Linked DNA regions of Homo sapiens: region 1 is linked to region 2. The links are contacts of gene promoters, found by promoter capture Hi-C in human tissues and cell types (Jung and others, 2019). All regions are on one chromosome and are shown on one strand. The core of a region is centred on a gene start or on the middle of the fragment in contact, and the rest is flanking DNA. Distances in the headings are between cores, read along the strand shown. Region 1 holds the start of CAPZA2 (capping actin protein of muscle Z-line subunit alpha 2). Region 2 holds the start of CTTNBP2 (cortactin binding protein 2).

The links. The method cuts DNA at HindIII sites, captures the fragments that hold promoters and counts their contacts. A contact is called where the count stands out against the background at its distance.
Region 1: a contact is called between a fragment that was not itself captured here and the fragment with the promoter of CTTNBP2 in region 2, in 1 of the 25 tissues and cell types used here (hippocampus).

The regions. Positions count from the first base shown.
Region 1 is chr7:116,856,124-116,863,091 of GRCh38, forward strand. It overlaps CAPZA2 (capping actin protein of muscle Z-line subunit alpha 2), which reads left to right and starts at 6,464. Exons shown (of 10, transcript NM_006136.3): 1 at 6,464-6,527. The coding sequence starts at 6,489. RefSeq lists enhancers at 768-1,425, 6,082-6,131, 6,083-6,845 and a silencer at 6,212-6,951. The HindIII fragment of the contact is 4,509 bases long and covers 3,097-6,968 here.
Region 2 is chr7:117,870,849-117,878,596 of GRCh38, forward strand. CTTNBP2 (cortactin binding protein 2) reads right to left here and starts at 2,593. Exons shown (of 23, transcript NM_033427.3): 1 at 2,487-2,593. The coding sequence starts at 2,567. The HindIII fragment of the contact is 9,281 bases long and covers 1-7,748 here.

The DNA of each region.
Region 1 (6,968 bases), core at 4,101-6,600, 1.0 Mb before region 2:
AGTATCCCAAAGTGCTGGGATTACAAGCGTGAGCTACCATGCCCAGCCTCATAAATATTTTTAAAGTTAGGTACCACATTAGGCAGATAAAAAGGAGTGTTCCTGTGTTGAAAAAGAAGCAACATACGTGGAAATGATAAACATGAGATTCAGGTTGGTGGTTACCTGAAGGAAGAAGAAAAGGGAATGGGAACTGGAAGAATTAAACCATGCTTTTTTGTATGCCTGAAATGTTGTGTAACAATAATTCAAATAAGTAAATGAAAATAGAGGCCAGGCATGGGGGTTCCTGCCTGTAATCCCAGCACTTTGGGAGGCTGAGGCAGGAAAGATCACTTGAGTTCAGGAATTCAAGACTAGCCTAGGCAACATAGCAAAACCCCCTGTCTACGAAAAATTTTAAAAACTTGCCAGGTGTGGTGTTGCACGCCTGTAGTCCCAACTAGTCAGGTGGCTGAGGTGGGAGGATCACTTGAGCCCAGGAGATGGAGGCTACAGTGAGCTATGATCACGCTGCTGCACTCCAGCTTGGGTGACAGAGCAAGTCTTGTCTCCAAAAAAAAAAAAAAAAAAAAGCAGAAGAAAATACAAGCTTTAGTATTTCCTTGCTTCACCCTAAAGGATCATTTTGAATACTCCCTGTCCCCTGTACTTTGTTTGGGACATGGTATGAAGATACTAAAGGCTTGAACTTATAGTGACAGGAGAATTAAAGAGTAAGAAATCAACTAGGGAGATATTTAAGTGGTGACTGAATATGGAGTAGTAAAGACTTGGAGATATTGGTATGATTTTGAGGTTTTTGGGAAAAAATTGTTCACTTTCCCATTCTGGAGTCCCCAGTCCACATTTTAGAACAATCTCTAAATCCCGTATGTGTTGCTAAATCAACTTTTCAGCTCTCATTTAGGGATGCGAAATAAAAGTGTCGTTTAATCAATATGCATTCCAACAAAGCTTTTTTAAGCATTTATTTGCCAGACATTGTATGTGCCAGACATGTCCTTAAAGACCAAATTGGTATTATAATATGATGATAATAGCTAATATTTATTGAGACTTTTACTAAGGCCTGCACTGTGTGCTAAGCACTTTGCCTGCATTGTCTTGTTAAATCCTCACAGCAGCCCTACAAAGGTGGTACTATTGTTATCCCTAATGTATAGATGAAGAAATGCAAGCCTGCAGAGTAAGTTCCTTAAGGTTAACTAGAGCTAGAACGAAGATCAGAATCCAGGATTTAGTGATGATAAAATCTGTATACCTCATCACTGGTATATACAACAAAAATCAATGGAAAAGTTTCTATGGTAATCTAGAAGAAATTATTAGCTTAGCTAGAGGATTCAATGAGAGTTTCAAAGAAAACCGATAACAGAATTTTAAAGGATAGGTAGCAAACAACATTCCAGAAAGCTTTGACAGAAGCCTGAGAGCATATGATATATATGCAGCTTTGTGTGTTTCAATGACATATGCATTCAGGGGCAGTGGCAGAGGTGGGTCTGGTGAGGTTGGTAGGAAGGAAATTAGGAAGGATAGCACGTTCGGGACGGAGGAGGGGTTGAAAAAGAAGTGTTGGCTGGGCGTGGTGGCTCACGCCTGTAATCCCAGCACTTTGGGAGGCTGAGGCTGGTGAATCATGAGGTCAGGAGATCGAGACCATCCTGGCCAACATGGTGAAACCCCGTCTCTACTAAAAATACAAAAATTAGCCGGGTGTGGTGGCACACACCTATAATCCCAGCTACTCAGGAGGCTGAGGCAGAAGAATCACTTGAACCTGGGAGGCAGAGATTGTAGTGAGCAGAGATGGCAGCCCGGCACTCCAGCCTGGCAAGAGAGCAAGGCAAGACTCCATCTCAAAAACAAAAAAAAAGAAAAAAAGAAAAAGAAAAAGAAGAAGAAGGTCTTCAATAATTCCTGAGTAACTCTAGAATGATCTACGTCAGGCTTCTCCAGGGGCACTACTTGTGTGTACCTTTTCAAAACTAGCTGAGGAAATGGACCGCAGGTATACACTCAACTATAAATAACTTAAGCAATTATTTGTTTAGAAAGATAATTACTTTTAAAATATATGAGTTTTTACACTTTTCCACAGCCATAAAGGACTTTACTTGAGACCAGTTGTGTTAATTGACCATGACATTAACAAACAACCAAATGTTAGTTGTCTAACACTGATAGTTTTTCTCAGAAGCGAGGTAAGTCAAATTTTAAGCTGCAGATGTTAGTTTTCTGGTGCAGAGATGGTACTATAGAAGTCTATATCTGGTACAATCACTTAATGATCACACAGTAATACTATTATTCATCTTATTTTACATTATTTGGTATGGATATGTACATAAAAGAACATGAGTCTGACCATCAGGATACTTGGATCCTAAAATAATATTAGCTAGATGTGCAATTTTTATTATGTCATTTATTTATCTAAGGCTCAACTCATCTGTAAAGAGAGAGGTTTGTAGTAGATGCACCCTAAGATTGTTTTTCTGTGAAATTGGGTAACCACTGGTCTTGACAAGTTTAAAACGTAGTTGAATAATTCGAGTATATCCATAGGAAAATCGATGTAAAAGTATACAAGTAACTTAAAAACAAACACTATAAAAGGAAGAAAAATTCTGGTGATGTTAATTGGAAAGACCAAGATCAGACCATGAATAAGCAGAAGAAAGGTAAGTTTGGCCAGGCGTGGTGGCTCACACCTGTAATCCCAGCACTTTGGGAGGCCAAGGTGGGTGGACCACAAGGTCAGGAGTTCGAGACCAGCCTGGCCAACATGGTGAAACTCCATCTCTACTAAAAATACAAAAATTAGCTGGGCATGATGGCAGGTGCCTGTAGTCCCAGCTACTCGGGAGGCTGAGGCAGGAGAATAGCTTGAACCTGGGAGGCAGAGGTTGCAGTGAGCCGAGATCATGACACAGAACTCCAGCCTGGGCAACAGAGCGAGACTGTGTCTCAAAAAAAAAAACAAAAACAAAAAACAGCCAAAAACAAAAAGAAGAGAAGTAAGTTTGGAAATTAATTAAGAAAAGGGTAGAAATTCTTAGTAGGTAAAATCATGTATAGGATAAATATTTTGTTTATTTTCTCCTCCTCATAAAACAACTGATTATCCAAGACTACCAGTACATTTTTCCTTGCAGTCATATAACAATAATTTCATATTTTACCTATTTGTGTGACAGCTTAAAATCTTTCTAGAATACATAGGCTACGCAAATTTTAGAATTCCTTTTAATTGTACCAAGAGGGTGGTATTGGAAGATTACTGAAAAGATTATCAGAAATTATACATAATTGTGGGTTGTGTCACTATGGGAAACCACATGTATTGTATCACTAAGGTTACAATTATAAACACACTCTGACTCAAATTATTGCAAAACATTACCATATTTGGGTGAGGTTTCTAGAGGAAGAGAGCAGCCAATTAATCAAGCAATAATATTTGCTGAGTATCCACTGTATACAAAATACTAATATAGGTGTTGCTGAGTAAACAGGAAAAAAGACAGGAAAAAAAACAAAACCAGAAGTACTGCTGATGCAGCACAGGGTGGTGAATTGAATTTACAGGATGGGATAGTAATTGCCTTCATTAAGTTTTATTTGGTGGACAGTGCCCAGACTTAAGAGGAAGAAAGAAAAATCTTGCAGTGGAAAGAACATGAAATATAAAATAAGATGCCTAGGTTCCAATCCCAGCTCGGTCACTTAGGAGCTATGCAATCTTTTTCTTTCTTTCTTTCTTTCTTTCTTTCTTTCTTTCTTTCTTTCTTTCTTTTTTTTTTTTTTTTTAGATGGAGTTTTGCTCTTGTTGCCCAGGCAACCTCCGCCTCCTGGGTTCAAGTGATTCTCTTGCCTCAGCCTCCCAAGTAGCTGGGATTACAGGTGTGAGCCACCACGCCCAGCTAATTTTTGTATTTTTAGTAGAGACAGGGTTTCCTCATGTTGGCCAGGCTGGTCTCAAACTCCTGACCTCAGGTGATCTGCCCACCTCTGCCTCCCAAAGTGCTGGGATCTATGCAATCTTAAATCATTTAGCCTCATTTTTTTCTTCTGTAAAATGGGTATAATGGTACTGATAAGAACCTCACTTGAGGTTGCAGTGAGAAATCAATGAAGCAATGATTTGTAATCTATAAGAGTAAACATGTTAATTTTCATCCAGTGTTACCCTTGGTTAAACTATGTGGTTTATTCTCTTTATCTTCTTCACAACGTTTATCCTCGAAAGGACACCTGCTTTTTTCTGCATGTGTCAGCATGCTTCTCCTTCCTCTTCTCTCCCCAAATGAACCATCAGTTTTTCAATATCATAGCTTCTGTTTGCCGTCCATTCACAAAAAACAATGATTTGCACATTATGAACACCCAATAAATTACTTAATAATAAGGTCTTGCCTCTGAACATTTATTTGATACTCTCACATTTCATTTATGTGCAGCTGTCAGATTCATCTTGCTGCACATATTTCTGATCATGTCATGTCACTGTTCAAAAGTTCTCAACAGTTCCTCACGGAATCTGAACGCCTATCTTAAACCCTAAGGCCTTACCACTCAAAATGTGGTCTCCAGATCAGGAGCACTGGCATCAGCTGGGAGCCTGTTATTCTACAGGCTGTATTCTGGAGAATACAGATTCTCCAGTCTCATGCCACATCTATTGAATTAACAACTTCGTTTTCACAAGATTCCCAATTGATTCATATCTACGCAGCTTTGATTACATGTTTAATCTCTCATAAACTTCAAGCTTCAAAAGCAGGGTTGCTAGATTTAGCAAATAAAAGTAAAGGATGTCCAGTAAAATTTGAAAACAATGAGTAATTTTTTGGTTTAAGTATGTCTCCACTGCTTCATGGGACATACTTTTTAAAAGATTGCTTATCTGCAATTCACATTTGATTAAGTGTCCTATATTTAATATGGCAAACCTATTCAGGAGGGTAGGATCCATGTCTAACATAGCTTTGTATTCCCCTGGAATAGTACAGTGCCTTCCCCAACTGTTTTTGTTTTTTTTTGTTTTGCTTTTTGAGACAGAGTCTTGCTCTGTCACCCAGGCTGGAGTACAGTGGCGCGACCTCGGCTGACTGCAACCTCCGTCTCCCGGGTTGCAGGGACAGGGACAACCTCCGCCTCTCGGGTTGCAATGACTTCTGCAACTCTCCTGCCTCAGCCTCCCGAGTAGCTGGTATTACAGGTATGCGCCACCACGCCCCGGATAATTTTTGTATTTTTAGTAGAGACGGGGTTTCTTCATGTTGGCCAATCTGGTCACGAACTCCTGACCTCAGATGATCTGCCCACGGAGGCCTCCCAAATTGCTGGGATTACAGGCCTGAGCTACCGCGCCCGGCCCCAACTGTTCAATATATGTTTGTTTAATGAGTAGAAAATGAGCTTCTTGAGTATGGAAGTTTCTCTTTTTATTTCAACAGTTTTGGAATACAGGTGGATTTTTGGTAACATGGATAAGTCCTTTAGCGGTAACTTCTGAGATTTTAGTGCACCCATCACCTGAGCAGTGTACCCTGTACCCAATACGTAGTAATTTATCCCCTCCCCAGTCCCCAAAGTCCATTTTATCATTCTTATGCCTTTGAACCCACATAGCTTAGCTCCCACTTATAAGTGAGAACATAAAATATTTGGTTTCCCATTCCTGAGTTACTTCACTTAGAATAATGGCCTCCAGCTCCTTCCAAGTTGCTGCAAAAGGCATTATTTCGTTCCTTTTTATGGCTGAGTAGTATTCCATGGTGTATATACCCACATTTGCTCTATCCACTCATTGGTTGATGGACACTTAGGTTGGTTCCATCTCTTTGCAATTGCGAATTGTGCTGCTATGAACATGTATGTCTAGCTTGCTTTTTTCCCCCTCAACACTGTATCCCCAGAGACTAACACAGTGCCCCGCACCCCGTTAAAGAACCAAAAAATATTTGTTGGATGAATAAAGGAGTATATCAAGAGCAATCTTTCAATTATGGAGAGGGTCGTGATGTGTATTTTAATGAAAGCCAACTATCTTCTCTAATATTTGAAAAAACAATGTTTAAAAGGCTTCTATTTGTACACCTTTTCACATTTTAGCTGGCAGAGTTCAGGACTTGATGGAAACATAACGAAGGGCTCAGAATGTACTCATCGCAGACTGAGCCCATATGGTCACAGTGGGGAGAGCACGCTGCACTCAAGATGCTAGCAAGCCTGCAGCAGGCGGCCCAGCGAGACACGGTCCCCCGCCCGGCCACCAGGCGCCCGCGCACGCGCACAGCCGCGCTCAGTCCGCGAGGGCCGGGTCGAGGGAGGCGGGGCTCCCGGGGTGCGCGTGCGCGGCGGCCTGAGCGGCGGGCCCCTCCCTTAGCGGGGGCGCGCGGCGCTGAGGACCGCACGGAAACGGGGAAGTCAGGTGGCCGCTGCCGCCGCCGCCGCCGCGGTTTGTCGCCAGAAGGAAGATGGCGGATCTGGAGGAGCAGTTGTCTGATGAAGAGAAGGTAAGAGTCGCGGGGGCGACGGCGCGGGCTGTCAGGAGCCGGCTCAGCCCGGGCGGGTGGGCCCGGAGTCTGGTCGCGGGGGAAGGGCATTGGCCCGCAGCTGGCCTTGCCCTCGGCTGCCCTTCCTCCCCCATCCTTACTGCGCCCAGTGCCTGCCCCTGTCCGTCACCCGAGGCCCCGCGCGGGGGCAGGTCTCTGCCAGGCCTGCTCGCTCCGCTCCTTGTAGGGTGTGTACTCCGAAAATAGGAAGCGGGAGCCGGGCGACGGCGGGCGGGGGCGCGGGCGCGGGGGAGGGCGGCGGCTGCCCAGGACCCTCTCCTGCTGTCGGGCCGCGGGGCCTCCGCCGGGGCCGGGGACCGGGGACCAGGGACGCAAAGGGGTTTGCGTCCGTGCGTGGGAGCGGCCCAAGGGCAGTGCCCAGCGCGGCGGCCTGGCCTGTGA
Region 2 (7,748 bases), core at 1,343-3,842:
CTTAAACTTGGGATGCTTTCAGGATTTAAACAGCTAAGAATGAGGATCACAAACTAAATTTAAAACATTCCACTAAAAATGATATTAAACTGAAAACTATAAATTAAGCTTGTTTCTAAGCAACAATCTAAATAGTCAAAGCTTAGTGAAAACACTCACTTTCAAAAATAGCCTACTGCTTTAGAGCTTCCATTGACTCCTTACTGCCAAATGTATACATAAAAATGCACGATATGTAAACCAATTTGAAAGTCAACAAATCTCCAAAATGCAAAGTGAATTGTTCACTAAAATAAAAAATATCAGTCAACAAGAACCCAAAATGCATAAAACGCCTCTGATTTTTAAGGAGCAATTGTGATGACACATATCACTCCTCTACACTAGCTTTCCTTTCACTTAAAAATCAGTCTATAGGTCAAGCGGCTGATATGAGAGAACCATGCCTTATTAAGTCAAAACTATTTGGAGAACTAAAATAAAAGGCCCAATTTACTACAAAAGCCATCATCAAAATTTTACTAAAAATTCAGAAATTATTACTGGTTTTTAAACTACTAGATGAAGAATCCTTATTGCATCTCGCAACCCTAAAGGATTCTATGGAAATAGCAAAGAAGGTTCACTTTCGCAGATTTTCCATGGCTCTGCCCATTAACAAGGGTGAAATTATCAAATCCCCAACTATCAGCAGTGAAAATCAGACTTGAACATTTTAAACAGAAGAGAGGGAACACTGACCTTGTTAACACAGAAATCTGCCTGGCGTCCTGGGTTTTGTTTACGATCTAACCAAACAAAACTATATATCAGCTCTACAGACCATCAGTCAGATGTTTGTGTTTGGGTTAATTGTCAGGTGATTAAAATATTGAGGGTAACAGAAACCCATTCTGAGTGGATTAAGTAAACAAATTCAACCTTTCTGGGGAACAAGAAACACACCACACACACACACACACACACACACCCTCTTTCTTTTTCGTCCTTCCCCTTCACACACACACACACACACACACACACACACCCTCTTTCTTTTTCCTCGTCCTTCCCCTTCCCACCTTTTGGGGATGAAGGCACCAAATCATTTCCACTTGCCAGAGAGCCTTGTCTCAATAGCTAGTTTCCTTACTGTGCCCCACAGAGGGGAGCTGATTCACATAAGTGGGCAGGTTTCGTTTGAAATCTTAAAGTTCTCATTTTCTATGCAAAGAATGGAAACTCAATTTTCCCAAAAGTTCAAATCAAAACTTGCCAGTTTTACAAGTGGAAATTAGCAGTCCTCCTCCCCGTTTCTCCTTCCATTGCCAGGCTCAGCTCCTCTCACCCCAAGTACCTTCCTCCACATCTCTCCTCTCCCTCTCCAGAAAGCCCTACCTCCAGAGGGTGGGAGGAAGTTAAAGCGGCCCCCGCTGTTTACGCCCGGCCCTGCCCTCTCCTGCACTGATTCTGCTCAGGTCTTGATAGGAAGAGGGGGGCGTCCACGCCCCGCTCGCTCCATCCCACCCCATCCTTCGGCGGGAGCAGCCAGATCTGGCCAAGAGTGGGAGGCGCTCCCAGATCTGCCTTTCTCTGCAGCTCCTTGCAGCTCCTGCGAAGCTGCTTCCCAAACACCGAGAACCTTTTCCACCCAGGAAATGTGGGTCCAGCCCTTCCCCAAAGTAGAGGCTGGAAACCACCAGCGAGTCTCTACACCGGAATATTAAGGGGGTGAAAGTAAGGACCAGTCAAGAATGGTAGCGCATTCGGCCTCTAGACTCCAGAGAAGGAGAACAATGTCTTGAAACCAGGTGCAGAACCTCCACCTCTCCTGAGCATCGTCTCGGGAAGAACCAATCCATCCACCCCACCCCAATCACTACCACCAAGTAATGGGGCAGCAGGCTGCTAGGACCTAAAGCGCTGGCCTCAGCGGCAGCAGCGCCCACATCTGGACACGGCCCTCTCCCAGTGGGCCTCCCGAAGGCACAGGACCAGATGCACACAATGGGCATCCCCACACCTGCTGGGCGATGGCCCACCTCCCCCAAGCTGCTCTCCCGGGTCCGCTGAGCGGTACCAGGCACCCCCGAGACACGCGCTGGCAACCACGCGCGCAGCGAGAGGTGAACAATGGGGGGTCAAATTCGCCAGGAAACACGTCCCAGCCTTCTCCCCCGGCCAGAAGCGACCGCAGCGGAGGGAGTGGGCATAGGGGTCGCACTGGACGCAGACAGGGAGCTGGGAGAACCGGGCGACCCGGGGCCGCTTCCCGTGGGGCGCGGAAGGGACAGGAGGGATCCCCAGCCAGGGTGGCCGCTCCGCTCCCCCCCGCGGCCTCCGCCGTGTGGGCATCCCGAGGAAGGGGGGCCCCGATGAAGGGGCACCGGAGAGTCCCGGGCTTACGGAACGCCCCGGGGGTGCGAAGTCGGGTCCGGCTGGGACCCCGGCGCCGCCCCCGGCCCGCGTCTACACTAGCCCCGCGCCCGCCCCGGGAACTCGGTTACCGCCGCCTCCGCCGCGGCCCCCGCCGCGTCCTCCGGGGCCCGGGACAAGTCGGGCTCGCAGCTCGCGCCGTCCGTCGCCATCTTCCTGCTCTAGCGGATCCGAATGCGAGCTCGGAGCCGCGGCTCCGGACTCAGCCGTCTCCGCGCGGGCGGCACTTAACCCGCTGCTGTCCGGGACGCGGGCGCCTGGAGCCGGGAGCCGGGAGCCGCGGCACTCCCTCCGCCCCTCGCCACCGCCCTCGCCGCTTAACCCGCTGCGCGCCGGAGCGCCCCGCCTCGGTCCCGCCCCGCGCCCCGCGTCCCGCGCCCGGTGGCGCCAGCCGCGGGCTCGTGGAGGTGCGAGAAATGGGCGCACGACCTGGCTCCGCTGCGGCCCTGCGCGGGGACTGGGGATCAAAGACCACGGAAGAGGTGAAGGCAGAAAGCGCCCGAGGAGCGTTGCATTCCGCAGAACCCCAACCAAGCCGGAGAAATCCGTGCACAGACCAGATTAAATGTCAGGCCTCCTGAATCTGAATTCTCTGAAAGATCAGGGAAAATCCTACACTTCAGCTCCCTCTATCCCACCGCGAGGAATCACACAGGGCACCCCTTTCTTCTTAAATTGCTCTTTCTTAAATTTCATTGCCGCCAGGGTGTTTTTATCCTCCCTATATATATACACACCTGGCTCTGATTTATTCTATCGTTGACTCTAGTGTTTCTCCAAAAACAATTCTCAGATGAAAACGATTTGTCTGTCCTGTTTTCTTTTAGAACGTGGCACCAGCCCCTCAGCTCCTAACTTTCTATACAATCTCCTTTTCAGGGAATGTGTAGCGGGCTGTTTTATATTCTGTGACCCCCCTAAGTCTGAGATCTCTCCTGAAGGACTAACTGAGAAGTGTTAAATGTCATAGCTTTAAAAGCTAAATGTCATGTCCTCTACTTTTGAGAGAATTTAAAAAAATTACTCCCTACGTGTGAGGACACGTGTACATATACACCAAAAACAATCAAACAAAAGCCGTATTTGTAAAAATAGATTTTATGGGAATTACACGTCTCAGAAGATTTTTCATGAGATGAGTGAATTAGGCCCAAACGCTTAATCTTCCCTTTCCACATCTAATTCAGTTCCTACCCTTTGCTGCCAATTTCCAGAATGTGAAAATCTATCACCTCACCAAGACCATATGGTACAGCCCTTCCCAAATCACCAGATCCCTAAAAATGTGTCGAATGCATAAAATCAAATTGAGACATTCAAGCTGTGTCTCAAAGACGTAAAATCAAACCACAACCAAATCTTGCACTTGAAATTTTGGAAGATGAATGACTAGAATGTTCAGTCCAAGGGTTACAGATCAAAGCTTTTTTTTTTTTTTTCCTTTTTTCTTTCTTTCTTTCTTTCTTCTTTTTTTAATGGCAGGCTCCTAATGAAAGGTTTTGACTCTTTAATTGCTCCACTTTCCAAATTAGACCCAAATATGACACAAACCAGGGCAGAGAAAATCTTTTCTGCAAAGACCCTGAAAGGGATTGATTAATAAACTGTGAAAAGTTCCCTCCCAGAAGAGAGGTCAAGAAAGAACTTTACCTAGAACTCTGGGGCTAAAAGTCAGAGGCTTAGAAATCATCTCCAGGTTATCCTGTGAGTACAGGTACTTATTTATTTATTTATTTATTTATTTATATTGGCTCTGATAGTTACTCCCTCACTTATCCCTTTAATATCCATCCCTGTTCATTATACCACTTTCCTTTATTAAGTATACTCTCTAAAACTGCTCAATATTAGAATAACTAGATTTCTTTAAGATTAAAGAAAACCACTGGACAGTAAAAGTTAGATGTCAAACTGATAGTAAAAATTTAAAGTCCAAGGGCATTCCTTGTTCTTTTCAAAATGCACTTCCACACATTGCAAGGCAATCAATTTTCTTGATTCTGATGTTGAATACTTCTCAAGCAATTAACTGGCAAACTTCTGGAAAAAATAATAATAATAAGTTTTACTCAGGGTTAAGAGTTAGAAATATGAAATGACACCATCTCTGGGAAGCAAATCCCTTTTATACATGCAGCCCAATTTTTAAAAAAAAATCACTGGGAAAAAATTAGCTTGTATTCACCTAAATACAATTAAAGCAGGATCATGTTACAAGGAAATCAGTCCTTGCCCACCCCCCCCCCCCACCGCAAACCCCCACCCATCATTTTTTGTTTGTTTTTGTGAAATGGAAAAAAAATAAATAAAACAGTGATAAAAATCACAGGACACCACATTCTCTAACCACCAAAATCCAGTACCTGGGAAGGAGAATTGACAGCATTCTGTTTCCACCTTAAAACCAGCACTGTTGAAGGTTGGCTGAGGATCTCACCTACTGCACAGAAGTGGCACACTAGGAGTTAACTTCCTCACTAGTAGCCTGGCCTGGGGCTGCTTCTCCACCAGGAGGACACTTGCTGGTTTCAATTCTCTCTTGAGAATTAGTCTCTGCTACTATTGCAAATTAACTCTTTCTAAGACTTTCTTTGCACAAAGGCAGGCTCTATTACAGTCAAAGCAAATAGATGTGAAAGGGTATTGACTTGATGGCTCCAGAAATTAAATCTTTTGAAGCCTCATTAAACAGCTAAATAATAATAATAATTAATAATAAAAATAAAAGATATCCCAGGGTTACAGTGAAAATTACTGAAAGGCAGGGTAAAAAAGGAGAAAGATAGAAGTATAAACAGGAGGAAAATAAATCCCTACAACAAAAATGAATCATGAGTCTTAATCAGTAAATTCCTTTTGGCATTAAAATGGAAGGAGTAATACTGAATATATTGCAAATAGAGAAAACTATTATTTACATCCTTTTTTTGGATCATAACGATGCTGATGACCCACTGACTAAAGAATTTGAGGGTAATTATTTTCCAAACCCTGGAATAGAGGTATTTGTGTTGAGCTATAGCACACTCTCTAAGGGTGAAATGACCAGGGAAATGAGTTCTTAAAGGTGGGAATGCAGACAGATGTTTGGGAGCCAAGTGGTTTTCTGATTAAACCATGTCCTTGGCTTCATCAGCCATATCCTCCAACCCACTAAACCAAAAACCCAGAGTTATACATATGATACAACAGGATGCTTCCTTCCATGTGAAAAGATAAAGGAATATACACAGAACCTAAAACTCTTTCCGTCATGGAGTAAGAGAATTATTTATTTCAGTCAAATGACAACATTTATGTTAATTCCAAAGAGCAAACCATATGTCATCATGTCTTAGTATTGCCAAATGACAAAATTATTGAGTAGCAAATCATTTCTGACTGTATCCTCAAGCCTATAGTTATACAATTTAAATATTGCAGACCATGCTTGTCCCTGTCTGCAGCATGGTGACCAACCTAGGAAGCCCCAAATCTTGACGTCAGGAACTCCGCAGATGAGCTCTGAGTGTCCATTGCCAGAAACAAGTTTTCCTATGACCTAACTACATTCCCTCATAGCACATGTCATTAGCTACATGTGCCTCAGGCTTTTTGTGGATTTTACTCAGTAAATTTAATTCTAATCTAGTTAGCCACTCTTGTCAACAATCTATGGTTTTGGAAGGCCTCCTCCACCAACTGCAGTTGGTGTGTGCCAAAGGAATGCAAGCTAATTTTACCTAAGCTAAAGCAAAACATAATTAGGGAATTAAATCTGCTATGTAGGAAGCAAGCCAAAGCGAAACATAAATAATTATCATAATCACTCCCAGCCCCTTTTAATACAACCTTTAACTGGGAACTGTATCTGTTCATTCAATTGCTGAAATAATGTACAAATATAAGATTTGACTGCAAGGTTAGAGCCACATTAAGAAAATCATCCCCCGGTACAGTCACTCTAAGAACAGAAACCAGCTAATACCAAACAATGAAGTAGTGTTGGTTCCATTCTCTTGCATGGTTTTTACATTTTAAATCATTAGTTGTTGGTTTGGATGCTTATCTGCAGAAGTCATTTACAAGAGTAAATTTTAGTGCAGAAAGATGTTTTAGTGCAATACCATTATGGAAAAACAATTTTAACAAAAAAAAAAATCTGGCCTGCTCTTGCCCCTTATCCACCTGAATTGGAAATGGACCTGAATATTTCTGTTTATTCAGCCTCTTTAGCAAACTCACAAGCCTGCAGTATATAGTTACTAGGCAATCATTAAAGCAGGGGTGTTTATACCATTAGGCATTACTCATAGTGGAGCTTCATTTATCTTAGAAAGTTTAAAAACTATATAAATATGTTGTGAGATCAGGCCCTTTTCTCCTCTGATTAGAAGTGTGGATCCAGCTGCAAAACCACAGCTGAGATTTTTCTTTCACTTGGGGATATGCACTGTTCAACACAAAAGGAAATTTAGTGTTCGAAGAATTAATAAGAACACTAAAGATGTTATCTTTTGATTTTAATAAATATGCATATGGCATTTATGATTGACTCAGTGAGGATTTACTTAGGATACAAAAAGCAGGAGAAAAGCTATACATGTGTAACTCTCCTGTGTCAAATTGTGAAATAAACCAATACATTAACACTTCCTAGACAATCATAATCAATTGTCATATACCAAATTAATAGAGTTTCAAATACATTTGGAATTTTTGAGATGTAAATTTCACCTTACCCTGCCTCAAATCTCACTTGATGACAATAGTTTGTGGCTGTTTTTTTTTGTCCATCAAGACTTTTTTTATTAATCCAAATTAGTTGGGGTTATTTAAAAATCACCTGGAAATGTGATGACATTATTTGAAAATATAAAAATATATATAGTAGGGGCTGTTCAATTAACCAATAAGTATACAATATAATTTAATTTATAATATTTATAAAACAATGTCATGGCTAGACTTGAAGGATTAATTTATTTCACTTGATTCAAGAACTGAAGGGAAAAAAATGCGTTGGTATTGCTATTTTCATTCTGGGGAAGGTGAAGTTACTTGTAGAATAATAAGGAAAAATACTTCTAACACACCATCATTAAGGTTTAAGCAGCTTGAAATGTTTTATTCTGGCAATTAAAGAAAAATTTAACTACTGAAAATGTTTTATGCTAGCAATACAATAAATATTTTTTTTTTCTTATGGCAAAAGATAAATAGCCACATACTGGTCATTACTATCATAATCATCTTGACAACCTCACTCACTATCTGTTTCAGCATTAACATCTTTATTAAGAATCAGTTCAGTTGGGATGTATTTTACCACTACTTTTTCCTCCCTTTGACAT